Linked DNA regions of Homo sapiens: region 2 is linked to region 1. Evidence: promoter capture Hi-C in 16 types of primary human blood cells and fetal thymus (Javierre and others, 2016). All regions are on one chromosome and are shown on one strand. The core of a region is centred on a gene start or on the middle of the fragment in contact, and the rest is flanking DNA. Distances in the headings are between cores, read along the strand shown. Region 1 holds the start of SV2C-AS2 (SV2C antisense RNA 2). Region 2 has its middle 10 kb from the start of SV2C.

The links. Contacts are between HindIII fragments. The CHiCAGO score rates a contact against its expected background, and 5 or more counts as called.
Region 2: a fragment that was not itself captured here is called in contact with the fragment with the promoter of SV2C-AS2 in region 1 in 1 of 17 cell types (M0 macrophages); the score reaches 5.2 in M0 macrophages.

Annotation. Positions count from the first base shown.
Region 1 is chr5:76,308,045-76,314,649 of GRCh38, forward strand. SV2C-AS2 (SV2C antisense RNA 2) reads right to left here and starts at 3,585. Exons shown (of 4, transcript XR_001742750.2): 1 at 3,140-3,585. All of the region lies in intron 12 of SV2C (synaptic vesicle glycoprotein 2C), which reads left to right. The HindIII fragment of the contact is 6,036 bases long and covers 2,410-6,605 here.
Region 2 is chr5:76,069,887-76,076,491 of GRCh38, forward strand. It overlaps a transcript of SV2C not described here and the pseudogene SAP18P1. Among named protein-coding and RNA genes, the nearest start is that of SV2C, 10 kb to the right of the region's middle. The HindIII fragment of the contact is 2,199 bases long and covers 3,197-5,395 here.

The DNA.
Region 1 (6,605 bases), core at 2,335-4,834:
TCATTCTGTTTGAAATCTTCCTGTTTATTTGTATGACAAACAGTTTCTGATTGGAAGCAGTCATTTACATATTATGTTATGAGAATTTGGATCTTATTTAAGCCTTTTGCTTGAATTGGCTTTCTGTGACTCCTCTCTGGCAAGCGAAAGGGAGGCATTGCCTTATTATTACCAGGTGGACGTAGAAGTCCAGGTACTCCACTTAAGCTCCAGTGACACCCAAGAGTGGGCATTCTCATTACTGCTGGGAGTCCACACTCCCTTCCTGATCATGGATACCATGGGAGGGAGGGAAGGAGGAGCTCATTACCACCCAGCAGGGATGAAAGTCCCAGCTCCTTACTTACCCTTCTCTGATGGCATCCCAATGGTAGTGTTGACAGGTCTTCTTAGTTTCACAAGGGTGGAAGTCTAGGCTACCACCAGACCTTTGCTGATGTAGCTGGCAGTTGAGCTACAATTTTTTCCTGGTGTTTGGTCTGAGGAGAGAGGTTATTATCTAAAAGTTTTCTATCTTGCTAGACTGCCGTTTTCCTGGTCCTTGGGCTAGAGAGAGCAGGCTTTGGTTGTGGCTTTTCTTTTTCTGTGCCTATTGGCATTTCTGGGTTGGCAACTTGTTCGATTCCAAGTCTGAGATCTATGGAGCAGAAGGCAAACGCAGGGAACTCCCCATCCCCAAGCTCCCTAGCAGTTCTGCCTTTTTCCTCTTTCAGTCTTGTTCTGTTTGTTTTATATATAATGTGCAGGATATTTTGTTGTACTTATCAAGAAGAATAAGAAAAGTATATCTATTCCATCTCGGTGTGAATTTTAATACTGTTTGTTTATTTACTCAACAACTATTTTTTTGAGCACCTATGATACAACCGTGAGTAAATCAGTTGTGGTCTTTATTCTCATAAGCACAAGCAAACTTCAGTTGTAATATAGTGGTCAGGGTTATTACATGGGAAGTGCATGATGCTCAGAGCATCAGAGAGGTTTTCTTGAAAGAAGTTCCATTTAATTGAGATCTAGTAGGTGATAACCAGTCAAAAAGATGGAAAGAACATTTCAGTTAGAGCAAATACCAGCTAACAAGCTCTGGAAGTAAAAGAGTTACTCAAAGAACAAGTCATGAAGACTCTTTCACATTGCCTTATTGTGTGGGGACGGGGAGACTTTGAGCTGTCTTACAGAGAATGACAAGATCATTCTTGGCCTTTAGAGAGCTCCCTCTAATGGCCAGAAAGAAGGCAGGGAGGCTGGTTAAGACACTTAAGTTGTAGGTTGGAGGCCGGGCACGGTGGCTCACGTCTGTAATCCCAGCACTTTGGGAGGCCAAGGCAGGCGGATTACGAGGTCAGGAGATCGAGACCATCCTGGCTAACAAGGTGAAACCCCGTCTCTACTAAAAATACAAAAAATTAGCCAGGCATCGTGGCTGGCGCCTGTAGTCCCAGCCACTCGGGAGGCTGAGGCAGGAGAATGGCGTGAACCCGGGAGGCGGAGCTTGCAGTGAGCCGAGATCGCACCACTGTGCTCCAGCCTGGGCGACAGAGCGAAACTCCATCTCAAAAAAAAAAAAAAAAAAAAAAAAAACAGAAAGAAAGAAAGAAAAATGTAGGTTGGAAAGGGGAAAAGTCAACACTCAACATGTTCACAGATATTTAGGGATACATTCAACAAAGCTTGGTGCTTGATTAGATGTTAGGGGGAAGAAAAGAGGTTGTCAAAGAAAGATGATTCCAGTTTCTGCGTGTACAGTTGAGTGAATGGAGATGGCAGGTTTTGTTTATGTTTTTTAATTTTAAAAACCACCTGCAGGAGCACAATGGCATTTTGAGGCTGGGACACAGGAGGGACAGTGGGTCTGGGCTGTGGTCAAGAAGGTAATAAGTTCCATTTTGGACATGTTGAGTTTTTACATCAACCTGGGGCTGTCCGATTGGCATTTGAATATTTTTGTTTGGATGCCAGAAAGATACCTGAGCTGGGGATAGAGAGGTCATTCACTATTTCATTCAAAAAAAAAAAATGATTATGGAATGCATATCCTGTGCCAGGAACTATTTTAGTCATTGGGAGACAGCAGTGAACAAAACAGACAGAAAGCTTTGCCTTGATAGAGCTTATATTCTATAATAGTTTGAGGAAGACAGTCCAACAAACAGATAAGTAAAGTAGATGTAGTATATTGGATGGTGCTAAGTGCTGTAGAGAAAAATAAAGCTACGTGGAGCATAGAGAATGCTGGGGTAAGGAGAGTTACAACTGTAAATAGAATGGTCTAGGGGGATGTGACTGTAAAGCTGACATTTGAGCAAAGACCCAGGCAGACATCTGGAGAGAGTGTATTCACAGCAGAGGCAACAGCAGGTGCAAAGGTCCTGAGGTGGGAGTGTGAGAGACCAGTTGGAAGAGAGGCAAAGCTTGTCTGGCTGGAGCAGAATGACCAAGGTAGAGGGTAAGAAGCCATGGGGTCAGAGTGGACAATAAAAGGGCTTTGGTCTTCTTGCTGAGTAAAATGAAATCCAATGTGGGGTTTGGGGGCAGATGAGTGACATGAACTGACTTATGAAGTCCACAGCAAGAAATGTGGCAAGAGGTAATGGTGCCAATGGAGGTGGTGAGAAAGTGGTTAGATTCTGAAAATATGTCTAAGAGAGAGACCTGGAATAGTTCAAGTCAAAGGAAACAGAAAACAAAGGCCTCCATAGAAATAACATGTCTGAGAGGCAAGAGTTGGAGTCTGGGGGTAAATCCATCAACGTAAGAAAATCCAGAGGTAACACAGATCTGGACTAAGAAATAACAGACACCAGAGTTAGGATACCAGGCCAGGAGACAAGAGTTCAGTGAGCTAGAAACTCAGGCTGGCAGAGTGGAATACAAAAAAACTAGCCTGGAAGCAAGTGGTCAAAGTATTAAGATGTCTTGATCTTCAAAAATGGTGTATGACATTGAGAGAAGGCTTTGCAAGTTAGACTTCCCTATAACCTCTGTGCTTAGGTCAGTAGGGCAGTAGTAGTTTGCAGCTGGTTCTCAATGACATTCATTGGACTGACTTGCCCAGGGCTAGAACTCACCTCAGGTAGAGGCAAGATATCAGAACTGTCTGCAGTGGAAGTTGAAGGCACCTCTCTGCTCATGCACTCACCTTGGTCAGTCACCTCTATCTTGATCCTAAACCTTCTTCCCAACTCTGTAGTAATAGCCTGAGATTCTTGCCAAGGCCAGCTTCCCAGTGCTGTGGTACGTCTGCCACAATGATTGAGATGCAGTGGTCGATGCAGTGCCCTTCTCCCCAAGGCTCTTAATTCTTAGGCGTAGACTTGAAGAAGCCAGGAATACTTGTACTTCTGCAGGGATGAGTGAGGTGAAGCGGGAAGACGGAAAAGCAAATGTTGCATTCAGGAATTTGTCCTTGATTGTGAGGCTGGAAAGACAAGATTGCTTTGAGAAGCATTATGAGGAAAGAAATGAAGAGCAGGGCAAAATGATAGACCTTTGAAGTTTGAGCCATTATTGAATATACAAGTCATTGTATAGTCTTTTAACAGTTTCTACATCAGCCCCTCACCTGTGTCAAAGATAAGCAGAGAGCCTATTATATGTAATGTAGATCACAAACAATTGATGTGGCATGAGATTCTTCTAATAGACATGAAATATGAATGTGACATGAGCCAGACATAGAATGGATTTTCCAGCTTGCCGTAAATCTGAAAGGAGCCCCAACCATCTAACATACTGGTGTGGGGGAGCTTCCTTTTCCCTCATTTCTCCGTCCCCAGTCCCTGCCACCAGCAAAATTACTTTCAACCCTCTTTGCGGTAGAACTGAGAACACCAACAGAAGATGCATTTCATTTTTTGGGTTTAGTCTGTGCTGGTCAGCTTCCCTCAATACCCTAACTGGGAAAAATAAGTCAATTTTCCCTCATCTCTTGAAGTCTTCAAAATGAAAGTATATGTAATGACAGGTTGAAATGGATTTTTTCCATCCATCAGGGTCCCTACTTTTCTCTCCCTGCTTTGTGAAAGTTGTAAATCTCTCAAAAGTCATAAATGTAGCTCCCGCGGTGTAGGCCTGTTCCAGCTCATTCCAGTTCTAGGTTTTGGCCTTTATGTTTCTCTGCGTCCAGGTGTTAACTTTCTGCTGCCACTATGTGGCTGTGGCCAAGTCCCCTGCTCACATTTCCTGTGTGCTTATGGCTCAGGGGCCACTTTTTTTTTTTGGGGGGGGGGACAGGGTCTCACTCTGTCACCCAGGCTGGAGTGCAGTGACGCAATCTCCACTCACTGCAATCTCTGCTTCCCAGATTCAAGCAATTCTCCTGCCTCGGCCTCCTGAGTAACTGGGATTATAGGTGCCTTCCACCACTCCCAGCTAATTTTTGTATTTTTAATAGAGACGGGGTTTCACCGTGTTGGCCAGGCTGGTCTCGAACTCCTGACCTCAAGTGATCTGCCTGCCTCGGCCTCCCAACGTGCTGGGATTACAGACATGAGCCAGCGTGCCCAGCCATTAGGGGCCATCTTTACCCCTCCTCCGTGGCGCTCGGGGCCAGGAGCGCACACCTTGTGAGATGCAGCCCACGCTCTCAGGGCCGTCCTGCAACTCTGCACAGACTCCCAGGGCCAGGCAAGCCTGTCTCATGGTGTCGTTTGGCCGCATGTTCCTGCCTTTCTCTGCCTACCTTCTTCCCTTTTCTTTCCCCCTTATGCCCCCTTATGCATGCACAGTTTCAGACATGAGGTCAGAAAGGATTTGAGGATCTGATTGTTCACACCTGCCGATCCCTGAGAGTCCTGGGCAGCTGCTGCCATCACCCAGTGCAGTGGGATTGGTCTCTTCCTTGATGAGCTAAAATCAAAACATTTTCCCAGAATTAAGCAACCCAAGCCCTTCCCTTAGGACTGTCCTTGTTTTGACAGAGTTCTCTTGTTTCCTCCCCATTCTTCAGTTCCGAAGGTCTGTCATCTTGGATCTCTTACTGACCAGCTGTGCGACCTCAGGGACACCACTCAGCCTAGCTGGGCCTGGATTGTTTGAGATTTAAATGAGGAGTATGAAATAAATAGCATCTCAGGGCCTTTCTAGCTCTAGAATTCTCTTCACTGTCGTCATCTGGTATTCTGTAATGGCAATTTCATTCATTCTTTCTTGAATACATTCTACGTCTAATATAAAGATAAATATCTCACTTATTTGTGAAGATTTTGGTACAGAGGAATCTTTCAGCTATCGCGACTAACCAACCTATGTAATCCACTCCATCCCTGGCCCTCTGCTCTGCTTGATTTTTCCTTATACGCCTTATCATTATATTATATATGTTTATGCTTTGGCTATCCAGCAAAAGTCAGATTCATTTTGTCTCTGGTAGTTAGAAGTAGAGGGTGAAGGGGGTGGGGAATATATGCTTCCTGCTCCCACAACCTTGCCATCAGGCAATATATTACAATGGAAGCAAATCCTGCCAAGTGTACTAGCACAAAAACAGTCACAAAGTTTGTTTTTGAGCTCCAAGGAAGTCCATCTCGCTGTCCTTGGGTACTGAGCAAGCCCTTGCATGAAAGGGCCATGTGCTTGATATGCTGACAGCAGGGCCACCAGACTTGTGGGCCAGCTAAACAAGGGAATGCCCCTTTAATTGTGGGGTGCAGGATAAGGGGGCTCTAGAATCTGGAGTCTAGACCAGGAGTACCATTTCACCAACTTGAGGCTGCAGGGCTTGGAGGACGCTTGTATGTTCATTAGGCTAAGGGCAGAACATTCTTTCCAATCATTGCTTATACAGAACAGCACTCACATCATCAGTGAAAAAATCATCTCCGTGGTCATTAACAAACCTTCTCATGCAGATTTCTAAAATGATCTTTAAAGCACTAAGTAACCATCTCTGGCCTGTTGATTCTTGATTAATGTGCTTTAAATTATATGGGTATGCATTAGAGACAATTTATCTATCAATCATATTGTTTATACTGAAGTACTTAAAGGAAATTATCACCCAGACCTTATGATGAGAGGATGTTAGGTTGCATGTGTACTTGTTTAACTCACTAGAATGTTAGCTCCTTGAGGGCAAGACATTGTCTTCCTTATTTACTGCCATAACTCTAGGTGAATGAATGAATGAATGAATGAAATATGCATTTGAGAATTAATTTGGCTATGGATGATAGTTTTCCTCCCCGTATGGGGTCCAGCCTCCCAGCTTTCCAGAGTGAGCATTTGGGCCAGTGTAAGGGAGGGAGCACTGGTCTTCAGTCCTCTCTGCTGTCCTTTGGGTCCCTTTCCACTTCTTCCATCACAGCCTGAGACCTCCTGATCCTTCAGCTGTCAGCTCCCCGTTCCTCATAAAGCATTGCCTATTAGAGATCCACCTCCCCCTCTCCCTCTACTTCATCAACAAAGTGGAGGAAAGCACTGATCTAGGGGTCACTGAATTCAGGTGCAGTCACTGCCAGAAAAATAGCTGGATAATTTGGAAAAGGCCTTTCACCCTTCTGAGCCTTGGTTTCCTCATCTGTGTGGTGGAGGGTGGGTCGGGCATGATGCTGGAAATTTTAAATGATCTCAACTTATTTAATTCTCATCCCAATCCTGTAAGAGTA
Region 2 (6,605 bases), core at 3,046-5,545, 240 kb before region 1:
GCCTAAGTTAGTCTCAGGTTCATTTTCTGATGTTTGCAGATCCTACACTGATAACAGGACACAAAATTAGATTCCAGGTCTGTGCAGCCCCTTTGGGTTGACACCTGAGTTGTACTGTGTGCTGGCTTATCACTTATTCCTGGAAACTGTCTCTCAGGTCATCTTCCACAGTCTGCAGCTTGGAGTCCAGTCCTGCCCCACACCTGAGAACAGCCCAGGTCTCCAGGGCCCCAGCCCACACCCAGGATGCTAGGCTTCTCTCATCCTGGAGAGGAGACAGTTCCTGGGGGATTTCACCAACCTGAACCCTCATCAGATTTCCACTGCCCACCTGCCCATGATCCAAGCAGAGTTCTTTCCATTTGCTCCTTTTACTCTAAAGAGCCTCATCAAGTGTCCTGTTTATGTGCATGTGTTTCCAGGTAACAGGAAATCTCGCACCACAGAGACAACTGTGGTTGTCTCCTGCCCAGGCCTTGTTCTATCAGGCAGGTTTCTACTGTCCCCAAGGTTAAGGCACTCTGTAAGGAAGAAGATAGCAATTTTCAGTGGCACTTCAGTCTCTTCTTCTCCCCTGAGGTAAATCTGGACATGCTTTGTAAGTAAGAATACATAGCTCTGCCTTCTCTGGGACTCTGAGGTCTCAGCACAATCACCTCTAAGAGCACTGCTCATTCCCACTTATCTTTGAACACTGTCTGGACTTTGTCTTCTTTGGGAAGGGTGGTATGTAGAAGGTGGCCATAAAAATGATATGGTACCAAAATGTCAAGCCTGCATGTCAAGTTCTAGCCATCTTTTGGTAGTTCATGAACACTGCGCTCTATGCTCTTCTGGTCTTACCTATCAAGGAAATCTCTTCACTGAGCATTCTGAGAAGTGATGATCTGGAATATCTTCTATCCACTATGCTACTTCTGCATTCCCTCTGGGACAGTTTGGAGAAATGTGTTTTGAGATCTCTTTGATGGAAATCCTATACCAGCTTCTCTTCTTCCAAGGACTCCCTATGCCTCCATTTTCAGGAAGTCTTCGGAGATGAGTTACCTCTTCTGGATGCAGGAGTTGCACAGCCTTAAGGTGATATCTGAGGCAGTGAGGCAGAGGGACAAGATGGAACCCACCATACTTTTAGGGTACCCATTAGTGATGTGACTCCACCTCCCGTGGGATGAATGAGAAGGAGGTGGAAAAAGGGTAGACGCTTCTTTCCTAGGTTTTTTGAGAGAGCAGGCAAGTGCTCCACAGTCCTCAAACACAGAGCTTTTAGTAAACTATAGCTTAGACCTAATGCCAAAATGGGGCTTCCTTCTCCTTCCCTTGGAATTGACAATAACCTAGGATAAGCTTGATTTGACTTTATGTCAGTCATAAAAGTGTGATTTGCAGAGAATCTCTGGAAAGTATGTGGAGAAGACGCACCGAGCAGGAGTTATAAAAGAACCTGCAGTTCTGAGCTGCCGATGCATATAAAAGTGGGCACAAATTGCATTATGGGAGATTTAATGTTGGTATAGGATGCACTGTCATGCAGGAAATGGCTAATAGAGTACCCAGAAACCAAACTTGGGACTGGGAGTTGAGTGAAGAGATAGTTTTAAAAATATCTTTATTATCAGGGAAGAGCTGTAGTCTAAGTGTAGAGAAAGGGAAAACCAATTAGACAGACTATTAATACCGAATGTTTCCATCATTAACACTCATTGTGTTGCTGCTTCTCAAAAAGCCATTTGTGACCCAAAAGTTGGTCAGCACCAATACCTTTAGATCATGCTAAAAATAGAAGTGAACCTAACTTCCTGAGAGCTTACTACATGCATTTTTAATAGCTAGATCATGTAGGGAAATCAGCATGTCTATTATTAAAATAGAAAAGCTGAGTGTTAGAACACTAATTTGGAGCAGGAAGATTATACAAGACAAATTCTGAACATGAAGATGATAATTTTCCCTTGAGCAGGAAAATAATTTAATAGAACTCAATGCATTAATAGACCTATAGTAGAATGTTAAAAAGAAATTCTAGCAGTGAGAATGGGGAAGACCTACGGGAATATTCAGAGTTGAGCTATAAATCATCTGGATACAGAGGATCCACAACACTTGCTCCAGAGCTTAGAGCAGCAGGAGAAATCACTGAACGAAAAGGAGAGAGAAAAAATTCAAAGAGATTACCCTTGTCAGAAAAGGGGCACATGTTTGTTTGTTTTTTTAACTAAATTTTAAAAAAACTATAGATATGCAGGTTTCTCCAGATATTGTTATGCCATTACCCCTCCAAAGAAGGCACTGCAGAATTTAAAGCCATGAGTTCCTTATATAGAAAAACTCTTGATAATCCTTATTTTGGAAAACAAAGTTCAAGAAAAAATGTGAAAAATTAATTAAATGTGTGAACAATTATTCAAAATGTGTTTAGCACCTTTCATATGAAAAGCATTGTGTTGGAGAGTTTGTGGGATTTAATATTGTAGAAAATGTGATGTCCTTGCCCTCAAAAAGCTGTTGTACTACAGGAAATGAAATGGAATTATTTATAATGAAACTGGTAAGTAATGAGAGCCATATATGCAGTTGACCCTAAGAGCTAACAAGTGTGAAGCTGGGCAGGATGCTTTTCCCTAATGGCTGCAGAATTACAGTAGAGAAGGTGGTATTTGGTATCTCAGGTGGTGGGTATAGCTTGATTAACTTTACACAGGAGTAGAGAAACTTCTTTTTCTCTGGGTAGATACCCAGGAGTGGGATTGCTGGATCAAATAGTAGTTCTACTATTAGTTCTTTAAGAAATCTCCACATTTTTTCCATAGTGATTGTACTAGTTTACATTCCCACCAATGGTATAAAAGTGTTCCCTTTTCACCACATCCAGACCAACGTCTATTATTTTGATTCTGATTATGGCCATTCTTGCAGAAGTAAGGTGGTATTTCATTGTGGTTTTGATTTGCATTTCCCTGATAATTAGTGATGTTGAGCATTTATCCATATGCTTGTTGGTTATTTGTATGTCTTCTTTGGAAAATTGTCTATTCATGTCCTTAGCCCACTTTCTGTTGGAATTTTTTTCTTACTGATTTGTTTGAGTTCTTTGTAGATTCTGGATATTAGTCCTTTGTCAAATGTATAGATTGTGAAGATTGTCTCCCACTCCGTGGGCTATCAATTCTGCTGATTATTTCTTTTGCTTTGCAGAAGCTTTATAGTTTAAGTCCCATCTATTTATCTTTGTTTTTGTTGCATTTGTGCTCGGTTTCTTGGTCATGAAATCTTTGCTTAAGCCAATGTCTAGAATGGTTTTTCCAATGTTATCTTCTAGAATTTGTATGGTTTCAGGTCTTAGATTTAAGTCTTTGATCCATCTTGAGTTGATTTTTATATAAGGTGAGAGATGAAGATCCAGTTTTATTCTTCTATATATGGCTTGCCAATTATCCCAGCATCATTTTTTGAAAAGCATGTCCTTTCCCAATTTTATGTATTTGTTTGCTTTGTCGAAGATTAATTGGCTGTATGCATGTTTAGAGCATCACAATTCGCAATTGCAAAATATGGATCCAGCCCAAATGCCCATCAATCAATGAGTGAATAAAGAAAATGTGGTATGTATGTGTGTGTATATATATATATATATATATATATATATATATATATATATACACCATGGAATACTACTCAACCATAAAAAGGAATGAAATAATGTCATTCACAGCAACCTAGATGTAAATGGAGACTATTATTCTAAGTGAAGTAACTCAGGAATGGAAAACCAAACATCATATGTTGTTACTCATAAGTGGAAGGTAAGCTATGAGTATGCAAAGGCATAAGAATGATACAATGGACTTTAAGGACTCAGGCAAAAGGGTGGAAGGGCGGTGAGAGATAAAAGACTACACATTGGGTACAATGCACACTGCTCGCGTGATGGGTGCACCAACATCTCAGAAATCACCACTAAAGAACTTATTCATGTAACAAAACACCACCTGCCCCCTAAAAACCTATTGAAATAAAAAATAAATTAATTTTAAAAAAAGAAGTAGAGAAACTTGATGAGTCTGTGGGGTATGCCAATTAGCCCAGAATATCCATGTCTTCTCATCCCTCATTGGTTGAGGGTTCACAGACCTACTGTGCAAGCACTGGGGTGGCCAAGGGCAGAGATGGGTCAAACCATCCTGGCCTGTGTCATTCAGAACTTCCTCTGCAGTGAAGGCTCTGGCTCTCTGGTGGGCATTGATTTGAGACACACGAACAGGCAAAGGAGTTTGCACTTTAAATCACTGTGTAATCATGGAGTGATTTAAAGCAGGTAAATTGTGCTTCTTCTGGGAAGCTGTACTTCTTTTTGGAGTCTCCAAACCAATCCCTGGGACCCCACAATGCTGTGTGATGCGGTTCCACTCTTCTCAGCCACCATTCAGGTAATGGTAGCTCTTCTTCCTGGGACTGAGACATGAGGAACATCCCCCTTCCTTGCATCTTACCAGATGCCACATTTACTGAGGCGAGACATTTTCTGAGTGACAAAAACTACCTTATCCTAGATGTGCAGATAATATAGGAACAAACAACATAGAGAGATTCAGTTATTGGCCTATAAAGCAAACTCAGGGTACGGCCCTGAATGGCCTAGAGTTTCCTTTAGTTCATCTCTCTCCTTCTTAACAAGAATGTTTTCCAGACATCAAAATCTGCCTCTTTCAGAAAAAAGTATCTCTTGTGGGCATTTTCATCTTCCTTTCTCATCTCTACCCTACCACACACTTCTAAGTGACACACTGCCTTCCCCTTTGAGCCACCAGAGGAGGCTAGAGACCTCTTCCGAGTTTCTTTCTCTGACCCTGCCTGGGGCAGCTTCTTCCCTTTTGCTTGTTAAGATACTGAAGCCATTCTGACTTTAGGCAATTATTTGTCAAACACATTCTATGATGTAGTAACTGTGCTAGAACCTTGGAATACAACAGATGGAGACATCCATCTTGTTTTCCCAACAGAAATAAACTTGAAACACAGCTCAACTCAAATCAGTAGACATTTGTGGAGTATCTACTGTGTGCCAGGTGCTCTTTTAGGGCTGGAGAGAGTATAAGGATGCTTTCAGCTGTGAGCAAAAGTCTCTAACTTAAAGTGGCTCTAAAAAATAAAAAAGAGGAAATGTATTACTACACAACAGAGGTAGGGCTGTTCCAGACATGGCACACCAGGGTTCTGGCACCACTTCTCTGAAATTCACTTGACTCTTACATCCTTCATGTGTTATGTCATCAGGCTCCCTCCCCTCCATGATTCCAGGATATTTGCAAAGTTCTATATGTCACATTCAAGCAAATAATGTCTAAAGACACAAATGGGACTTCTTTGCTGCATTTATATTTTCGGGAGTAAGGAAAGCTTTCCCAAAAGCTGTCTAGAAATCTTCCCTGCAAATGTCATTGAGCAGAATTGTGTTACAAATCCATGCCCAAACCAATAACTGAAAGGGAGAGAGGAATTATCATGACTGATTTGGACCAATTAGAATGTAATGAGCCCATTCCCTAAAGCCCACTCCCTAAAGGTCATGTGAAAAGTGGTAGATCTCAGTTTGCTGAGGGGGTCGGAGCTCTGGGCAAGAATCTCGAGAGCTTGTCAGAAGAAGATGGCAGTGGAGTCATGCGTTGCACTGGAAGAAATTAACAAAGATCTGGAGATGCCCACCAACCAAGAGAAGACATGTCCAAGCTGTCCTGTGGTCCAGTGAGTGGCAGATCCACACTTAGATGGATGCAACCTTGAATTAACTGACTAGATTAGTAAAAGAAGTCTACCCAGAAGCTAGAAAGAAGGGCACAAACTTCAATTTTGCAGTTGTTTTATGGATCTTAAAAGACATTGCTATCAAGTAAAGGAAACTGGAAGTGTCATGTCTGGTAGAAAAGGGGTGAATGATGAATAACCCTAAAGTGGCAGCAGTTCCAAATAGATTATTTGCACATAGCAATTACTCCTCCAAACCAGGCACCACTTCTCTCAGGGCACATGAGACCATATTAAATTTTATTTACTATTTTTTGCATTTATTTTCCAATTAGTTATGTAAAATTCCTTATATAGTCTTTTTCATCTTATTTCCATTGAGCCTTTAAACTCTAAACACACTGTAATGCATCTATGTAGGAGTTATATTTGGTTGTGCTATGGAATGAGCATTAATAGAAGGTCCATATTGTTTCAAGCCCTGCTGTAAAATATGAAAAGTGCTCTTAGCATTCTGTATAAAACTGTATTGTTAAATATATGTGTGTAGTTTTTGAAAAGGTAAATCCCTAAATAAAATCAGGATTCTCTGAGGTAAGCATAAAGTATCATATGTGTATGGAAGCTGGACTGGATGTTGGTAGGGCAACCAGCAGAGTTGGATAGAAGATTGATCTGGTGCCTTTTTAAATATGATTGGTTATTCCTTATAGTTTCCTATTGCCTGCACATATTTTTCTTCAAGTACAGTGAAAATTATGACCAATAGTTCTAACTATTGAAGTTTAACTAAAGAAGTCTTTCTTCAGGAAAAGATTGAAGTTTCTTTTGTTATATCTGCTGGTGCTACTTCATGTTATCAT